Linked DNA regions of Homo sapiens: regions 1 and 2 are each linked to region 3. The links are contacts of gene promoters, found by promoter capture Hi-C in blood cells and fetal thymus (Javierre and others, 2016). All regions are on one chromosome and are shown on one strand. Each heading gives the region's core, a stretch centred on a gene start or on the middle of the fragment in contact. The rest is flanking DNA. Distances are from core to core; before and after follow the strand shown. Region 1 holds the start of GTF2F2 (general transcription factor IIF subunit 2). Region 2 holds the start of TSC22D1 (TSC22 domain family member 1). Region 3 holds the start of LRRC63 (leucine rich repeat containing 63).

Region 1 (2,700 bases), core at 41-2,540, 1.1 Mb before region 3:
ATCTTTCCTATTAGTTTTCCTAGCTAAAAGCAGAGTTCTGACAGCTTTTCCTGGCCCTATGCTGAACACACATAAAATTTCCTCAATTTTGTGCAAGGCTCTGATGTGTGATTCAATAAATTACTTGCCATTCTTAACAATACCTTACTGTTTGTTTCTCTTCAGCGAATGTTCTTTCACCCAAAGCCTACTGAAACCTGACAATGTGTTAAACACTGTGCTAGACATTGTGGATATAAAATGAATAAAGCACTATTTTTTATTTGTCAATTATACCTCAATAAAGCTCTTTCCGCCTAGGAGGAGTTCATTGTCTGGAAAGCAAAGGCAGATATGTAAACATATATATTATAGTTCAGAGTGCTAAGTATCACACTGTGATGTGAAGAAAAACTAATTTCTTCTGGGGAAGTTGATAAAAGATCTCATAGGAAGTGACATTTTCATTGGTCTTGAACCATAAGTAGGAGTTTGCCAACCAGAGCACAGGGGTGAGAGTGAGGGCAGGGGTAAAATAGGGCTTCCAAGGGAAGGGAATCCAGTGTGCAGAGGCTCTGAAATGACCGACGAAGATTCTGACGTGTTTAGGGAAGTCTGCTGGGTTTGATGTGGTTTGGTGCATGGCGGAGTGATGGTGGGAGGTGCAAAGAGATGAAATTGAGAGGGCCCAGTTGAAGCAGGAGGATTGAACTTTATTCTAGAGGCAATAAGAGAAAGAGAAAACTGTTTAAGCAGGGGAGGAAACGATCAGGTTTGTCTCTTACTTGTTCGTTTCGTTACAGACTTCCGGGTTTTGGAAACTGAGGTGCTCCGCTTGCTTCATCAGAACAGCTCGGGTAGCCTCTGAGCTGAAACACGGCTTTTTTTTTTCCAGGTCTAGAAACGGCATGTTTTCAATATACCCAAGGCTACTAAGTTTGATCCCAGTGCCCATTTGTGCTAATGACGTTGGCCAGGGACGCCAATTTACTACCCTGACCCTGTCCTTCAAATATTGTCTCTCTCTCCTTGGCTAGGGTTGGACATGTTCTGACACCTTTCGTCTCTTTGAACCCCATTTTTCCGTTCTGATAATCTTTTTCTTCAGTTATGCTGACCATGTCTTTAAATACATTGCTAACGTTTTAGCTCATCCCACCCTACGTTTTAATCCCTCAGATGCAGACATCGCGGACAGCCACGCCCACTCAAGAAATTTCCGAAACAGAAAGTTTGTCTGCAACAGCGCGCCGTACTGACGTAGCAGTGCGCAGGCGCAGTCCCGGCTCCTGGCGGCGTGTTCCTCTTTTCCTCGGTTCCCAGTGTTCTGGCAGGTAAGGAACGCCGGCTCTTCGCCTCTCAGCGCGGCTTGTCCTTTGTTCCGGACGCCCGCTCCTCAGCCCTGCGGCTCCTGGGGTCGCTGCTGCATCCCGCACGCCTCCACCGGCTGCAGACCCATGGCCGAGCGCGGGGAACTCGACTTGACCGGCGCCAAACAGAACACAGGAGTGTGGCTAGTCAAGGTAATGTTCGCGAGTCTCCCACTTGCGCTCCTCCTAACACAAGTATAGTTTAAGTAACTTGAGCCTATCCCGCTCCGTGCGCCTCTTAAAGTTCTTTTACGGCTATCTCGTTAGAGCTTCACACATTTTGAGAGGCAGGAGTCATTGTTGTATCTGTTTGCAGACGAGGAATTAGTTTAGGGACGCAAAGTGTCTTTCAGCCAGTTACTACTCTGAATCTGCCTGGACTAGATCTCTTTCTCACGGCTTTCCTGGAATCTTGTCTTGGTGTCCCCAGATTTGGACGGTGCATTTTATCCCAGACTGAAGAATTCCTTGTATCTTCCCTTGGTGAAACTGGTTTTAGCCATGAGCCTGCGTGAGGTAGTTGAATGTCTACTTTCTGTACAGTTTTCTCGGCCAGAAAGTAGGACTGGTCCCTGCCTACTCTTAAAAGTGTTCTCTTAGGTTGATGGTCCTTAATGAAGCTCTCAAAAGAGGCGAGAGAGCCCCAAACTCACAGAAGGAGAGGTCATTGGACTGGAGTATTCTTTTAGAGCACATTTGGGTCTCGTGAAACTGGCCGTCAATAAACGTTTTATGTGAAGACAGCAATTTTGGTTAGCTCACAGTAAGCACTATTTGTGCTTTATTGTTTCATATTGGGGAGTGTTTTCTCCTAGGGGAGTTTCATAATACTTAAGCATATTCAAAATGTGATCCTGAAAGTCGTTGAAACTTAAAATGTAAGGACTTTTGGTTTCTTAATGCTTTAACTGTTTTATCACATGGCTGAGTTCTCGTCAATTAAATCTAAGAGGTCTTTCTTGTCGGCCTTCCTAAAACAGCCCCCTTGTGATCATTTGCTAACACGACAGATGTGTATTACATTCTTCAAAGCACTTTTCACAGTGTAGAGTGATTTTGTGTTCATATGTTCAAAGTTGGTTACCTCTGTCTTTCCAACACACAGAATCACATTCCATGAGAACAGGATCTTTGCCTGTCATACCCAGAATAGTGTTTGGCGCATGGTAATTACTCAACAAATAGATGATGAATAAATGCATGACCTCTCATTCTTCAGCCCTCGCCTTAGTCTGTGGCACTCATTTGACTTATTTCCAAACTCAGTGTGACTTAAAAGGATGGATTAAATAGGCATTTCTCTCTCCAGCAGCATGTTACTTGGGGGGAGAGTCACTAAGGAGGAGATTGC
Region 2 (2,700 bases), core at 196-2,695, 1.6 Mb before region 3:
TGCTGACTTGAAACCGATCCCCCAGTCATCCCTGCAGCTGCATTAGGAACACTGCTAACAGCAGCAGAGGAAGAAATAGTACCATTGCCCATGCCACTCAAGATATTCACATTAACACCACTGGTAACTCCAGGCCCAACACTCACACCAGCAGCACTAGGAATATTGCTTGTACTTATATTAACATTACCAAGCATGCTGCTTGTCACATTAGGATTAAAACTACCCACAGCAGTAATGTTAACATTATTTACTGTACTAGTGCCAGTAACAGAATTTATACCTATTCCACCTGTAGTACTTGGAGCACGCATATTAGTCATTACAGATGCAGGTGAACCACTGGATGATACAGCAGAAGTTGGTGCAACTGGTGTGATACTGTCAGAGCTTCCAGTTGTAGAGAGTTTTCTAGATACTGGGCTTGAGGGTGGCCCACCAGTAATGGATGCACTGGCCACAGCAACATGAGATGGATGGTGGTGACCATGTTGGAGGTGGTGCCCATGATGAATCTGATGGTGGTGATGGAGGTGGTGTGGATGAGCATTCCCATTGATCACAACATTCTGTTGTGGAAGGTGAGGCAAATGAGGCTGAGGAAGGTGGGGCTGGTTGGGAGAGACTGCCCCAGGTGTCTCGGCTTCCTGGAAGTTATTTAGGGTCTCTTCTGAGGAGCTGCGTTCGGGCTCCCCTAAGTCAGTAGCCCTGGAAAGTGACACATCAAGGATCTCCGAAGAAGAGAGATCTTCCGTGTGAGATTCATCCAGATCATCATAGCTCTCAGTGTCCTCTGCTATACTGTTGTTAGAGCTGATACTAGCGGAGATCTGAGCAGGAGTAACGCTAGTTATCTGGAAGCCACTTTTCTTTTTCATTTGAGTTCCGCCTGGCGCAAGAGGCTGTGCCTGCAGCTGAGCCTGCGAAAGGAGGTTCAGGCTTTGTGGAGGCGGAGGCTGTGGTCCCGACGTAGAAGATGCTGCAGGGGGCGGCGGCTGAAGCAGCGACGGAGGCGGAAAATCCTCGGAAGATGTGGCATTACTACCGACGCCGGTACCTGCTGCATTGAGAGCAGAGGCGCTGCCACTACCGCTGCCCCTTCGAGGGAACATTGCCGGGTGCGCCATCTTCCTAGCGCTAATGTCTGCAGCGGCGGCGGCCGCGGCGGTGGACTCAGGCGGCTGGTGCATTGTGTTGGGTACCGGGGGCGCGGAGGAGACGAGTGCAATTTCCTTCTGCACCGTAATCTTTGTATTGGAGACGCCGGAGAGGAAAACGGGACCTGACGCTCCGCCTGGCGCGATTCCTCCTTCTCCTCCTCCTCAGCCAAAGGCGCCGGTCGCTCCTGCCTTCGAGAGCGAGCTTCGGAAAGGAGGATGAACGAGGGTGAACAGGGCGGCCGGGGACCCGAAGGGGGGATCCCTTCAGTCCTTCGCCATTCACTTTCCCCTCTAGCCTCACACCCCCCTTTATATTCTGCTTCACGTGGGGTGCGGGGCAGGAGGGAGGGGGAGAGCGCAGGAAGGGGAGGAAAAGCGAGAAATGCCCACCTTCTCCGGCCAACTCCGAAGCCGCCTCAGCCCCCTCCTCCCGCCGCGTCGGCGGCCGCTGCAAAGCCCTCCCGGCCGCTCTGCACGGAGGCAGCGCCAAGCAAATGTCGCCTTCCCCTCGCCACCCCCGGGGCCGCCGCCGCCGCCAGCGAGCCCCGAGCTCAGTGTCGCTCAAACCTCCCCTCCCGGCCCCGCTCGGCCCTCCCCCCGCGCCCCGCAGACCCTTTCAAACCCCCTGGGCTCGCGGCGGCTGCTCGGTGAGGAAACGCTGGCCGCGGCTGGGGCCGGGGCGACGCGGCTGCGAGCGGGGCGGCGGCGAGGCGCCCGGTACGGTGAGCCCAGCAACGAGGCGCGGGCGGGCGCGCAGAGACGCCGGGTCCTCGCGGAGCACGGCCGGGGCGCGGCGGCGGCGGTGGCAGCGGGAGCCCAGGGACCGCTCCATCACTGGCAGCCATGGAGCCCGAGCATTTTCCTCCCTCAGGGCAGGCGCCTCGACTCGGCACACGTCCTCGGGGAGGAAGGGGCCGGCACCCGAGCCTCTCCGGAGGGCGGCGGGACGTGCGCTAGGGCGGAGGGTGCGACCCTCTCTTATCCTCTTCCTCCGCAGCCGGCTCTTCCTCACCCCGCTGCTCCCGCGACCGGGCGGGAGAGGGCCGCAGGCGGCGGCGGCTCCTTTCTCCGCGGCGTTGGTGGCCAGACGGGCTGGTGCAGCGACTGCAGCCGACGCCGTTCAAAGGAACGAGGTGGGGTTGGTCGGTGTCGGCAAACGGGGCGGGGGAGTGAGTGGGTGCCGAGGGAGGGTGTCGGGCGGGGAGGGGGCTGTGGTGGTTGTTACTAGTGCTCTTCTTCGGCTCCCCCGGCTCCACCGTATCCCCCAGTCTCTCGCGGCATCGGGAGGGGAGGGACCAGCGCGGAGCGCAGGAGGAGGAGGGGCGACCGCCGGCGAGAGGAGGCGGTGGTGGCTGGGGGGAGGGGGCAGGCGGAGGAGGAGGAGGGAAGATGGCGTCTGCGCATGCGCCTCGGCGCCGCAGACATAAAGCCGGGTCTGGCGGGGCAGGAGGCGGCGGGTCTTCGGGCCTAGGCGAGCGCCAGGTCTCCCGACGGAAATTACCGAAGGCTGGCAGAGGCGCCGAAGCCGGGAGTGGTGGAG
Region 3 (2,700 bases), core at 197-2,696:
GTCTCATACTTGCTAGAAGAAATCTGCAAGGAATGATACCTGGATGCCTGCGGATTCCAAGTGTGACAAAGCATTTTTTGAAAAAGCATTCAGAAGCCTTGCTTTCGACTACACAAAGCTAAGCATAAATTTTAAAGGCCAAACGTCAGTCAGTAAAACTGAATTCCTGTAGTTCTCATGGTTCCAACGATCTTGAAGAGCATAGGTACCTGACTCAATTTACACTGTCATTTTTTATGCTTAAAAATATAAACCTTTTTTCACATTTACAAAATATGCACGATATATATTACTTGAGACTAATCTTAGCCACAGAGCTGCCTTTTATTTTCAGCTTTGTATTTCTGAGAAACTAATGAATCTATGGTGTAGATAACAGCAAAAGTGGAAATAAATTCATAGTCTGGGGCAGCAGTATAATTGGGACACAGTAAACTTACAAGGAAAAGAAACAGTACACTACTACTGTAAAGGAAAACAAGTTGCATAATATTTTCCAGAGTCTGATTACTTTTTTGTTAAAACTTTTCTACTTTTTTCATTGATTGTTTTAAAACATGTTTGCTACTAAGGAGAAAAAGGAAGACATGGTTATGGTGTGAATCTTGAAAGATCCCCAAAGCTAGAAAGATTTATACAGAAGTCTCTCATTTTCCAACTTCTGTTATAAAGTTCCTGCGCTAGTACTTAGAAAAAACCAAACCTGGAAGGAAGCTCTACCTAGTTTACTTTCTGAGTTCGGATTTCCGCATCTATCAGATGAGCTCTTTCTAGTGCTCTTTCCCCCTCAAATCTCCAGAGAAACACGCACATTTTTGCAAACACACACGATGTATCTATGACTGCACACACAGGTTCATCAACACCATGACAGAGGCGACACGTCACAATATGATAACCAGAACAGAGGACGATGACAGTGAGAAATGGGTTTCTTTTATGGCCCGCTTGGATCCCTAATGCCCTTATTTCTACACAATCCAGCCTCAGCCAGGAACTTTAAAGGATCAGAAAGAGAAAACAGGTTGCATGAAAGGAAGAGAAAGAAAACCGAATGCCCGCTTTTCGAGAGCACTGCAAAATTAGCCCCGGGACCCGGCTGCACAAAAGTGCAGCCTTAAAGAATGCCAGCCCATATTCTAGACACCCAAGTAAAGCATCCTGTAATCGAGAGAAAATAATAAATAATAGTGGTCATTGCCATTAAGCATAAAAATAGTAATAACAATTGTCACCACGGCGTTCCGTACAGCAGCTGCGCGTGGAGCCGGCTTCTCCTCCGGCCCCCACGGCCCGCAGCTTCCCCTGCAGCCCCACAGTGCGTCGGAGGAAGGCGAGGGCTCCGCGCGCGCTGCACCGTGGGCTGGGCCTGCCCCTCCCGGCGCCCGCCTCGCCTCGCCTGTCCCGCGCCCGCCTCGCCTGTCCCGCCCCCGCGCCTGCGCGTCAAGTGGCTGGGCTGGCTTAGCGGACCCCGGTTGCTAGGGTGTGTCTCCTTGGCCTCCTAGAGGGTGGGGATCCGTGGTGCTTCTTCGGGAACAGCCTCCTGCAGGAAGACCCTCGCTGGACCTTTACCTCGCTGCCTAGATTCCGAGGAAAAGGAGATAGGAGACGAAAAGCCAGTTGGTTTGGAAAGCGGCCGATTATCCTAAAGGGTAGTGTGGGAGTCCAGCACTTCCATGCCCCTCTTTGGGTACTACGGAAGGGAGATTTCCAGCATCGTGTGGAACATATGACCAGGGAGTACACCTTGAGCGCTTGTGTGCAGTTATCTTTTGGCGGTAAACGGCCCATTTGTGCAGTTTCAGGGTGTTCCCTTCTAGGCTATCAATGGAATAATGCCGTGCCAGGCACTTTTGATGTTGCCCTGCAAACTAAAAGCACATTTTGGGGGTGCATCTTCTCGCATTATTTCTAAACAGTATGAGTTGGGATCCAGCAGCCCTGGGAAATCTCATTATAGTGAAACCCATCTTATTTTAGGATTGAATTGTTTTGGCCCAAGCATAGTGGTTGAAAAACAAGCCATTATAGAAAGAAAACAATTTGTTTGTGAATGGTTAGATATGGTGGGTCTTCAGAGGCTTATCTAATGAAGGCATCTTCTACACATTTCTGACCAAATTCTCTTTCTACATTTATAGCGATAACATTTTGGAGAGAGAGAAAAAAAATGTCATTTCGACTATTCTGAAAAATCAGTATTTACTAGTTGAAATAGCATTGGCAAATTGAACTTTGTACTAACATGGAAAATTGTAGAATGATCCTGGGTAGTAATAATACACATATTTTTAAAATTCTATGTTTACTTATAACCCTACATTTTAACTGGATTCTTTCTATTAATAGAAGTTTTAAAGAATTATTTTCTTACCCTCTTTTTTTTTCATAAAGGAATTCTGCCTGGATTCAGTAGAGTATTGGTACAGAATGATTTTCTTTAAGATGTAATCTAAATTCTTATTATTTTTCAACAATTCAAACATATTCAAAACCTTTTCAATTCTCATTTAAACCAAGGATTATGAAAAACAGCACTTATTATTCATTAAAATGCAAAAGCCCCCACTGCTTCTTCGAAGACCCTTACCTCCAAAATTCACTAAGCTGTCTTTACATGAGAAAAAAACCCATACAGGTATGTGTATTAATCAGATATGTGTATTAACATTTATGTATCTTTCATAGAAATTCCTTGAC

The links. The method cuts DNA at HindIII sites, captures the fragments that hold promoters and counts their contacts. A CHiCAGO score of 5 or more calls a contact.
Region 1: the fragment with the promoter of GTF2F2 here is called in contact with the fragment with the promoter of LRRC63 in region 3 in 1 of 17 cell types (naive CD8 T cells); the score reaches 10.1 in naive CD8 T cells.
Region 2: the fragment with the promoter of TSC22D1 here is called in contact with the fragment with the promoter of LRRC63 in region 3 in 1 of 17 cell types (total CD8 T cells); the score reaches 6.5 in total CD8 T cells.

The regions. Positions count from the first base shown.
Region 1 is chr13:45,119,220-45,121,919 of GRCh38, forward strand. GTF2F2 (general transcription factor IIF subunit 2) reads left to right here and starts at 1,291. Exons shown (of 8, transcript NM_004128.3): 1 at 1,291-1,502. The coding sequence starts at 1,437. RefSeq lists enhancers at 921-1,564, 1,325-1,454, 1,565-2,206. The HindIII fragment of the contact is 3,497 bases long and covers 1-2,700 here.
Region 2 is chr13:44,574,885-44,577,584 of GRCh38, forward strand. TSC22D1 (TSC22 domain family member 1) reads right to left here and starts at 1,446. Exons shown (of 3, transcript NM_183422.4): 1 at 1-1,446. The coding sequence starts at 1,190. TSC22D1-AS1 (TSC22D1 antisense RNA 1) reads left to right here and starts at 1,012. Exons shown (of 3, transcript NR_038381.1): 1 at 1,012-1,386; 2 at 2,158-2,293. RefSeq lists an enhancer at 919-1,158 and silencers at 1,479-2,188, 2,199-2,438. The HindIII fragment of the contact is 6,017 bases long and covers 1-2,700 here.
Region 3 is chr13:46,210,482-46,213,181 of GRCh38, forward strand. It overlaps LRRC63 (leucine rich repeat containing 63), which reads left to right and starts at 1,447. Exons shown (of 10, transcript NM_001282460.2): 1 at 1,447-1,778; 2 at 2,521-2,638. The coding sequence starts at 2,554. It overlaps LOC107984578 (a long non-coding RNA gene), which reads right to left and starts at 1,371. Exons shown (of 4, transcript XR_001749863.3): 1 at 1-1,371. RefSeq lists a silencer at 1,203-1,532. The HindIII fragment of the contact is 5,320 bases long and covers 1-2,700 here.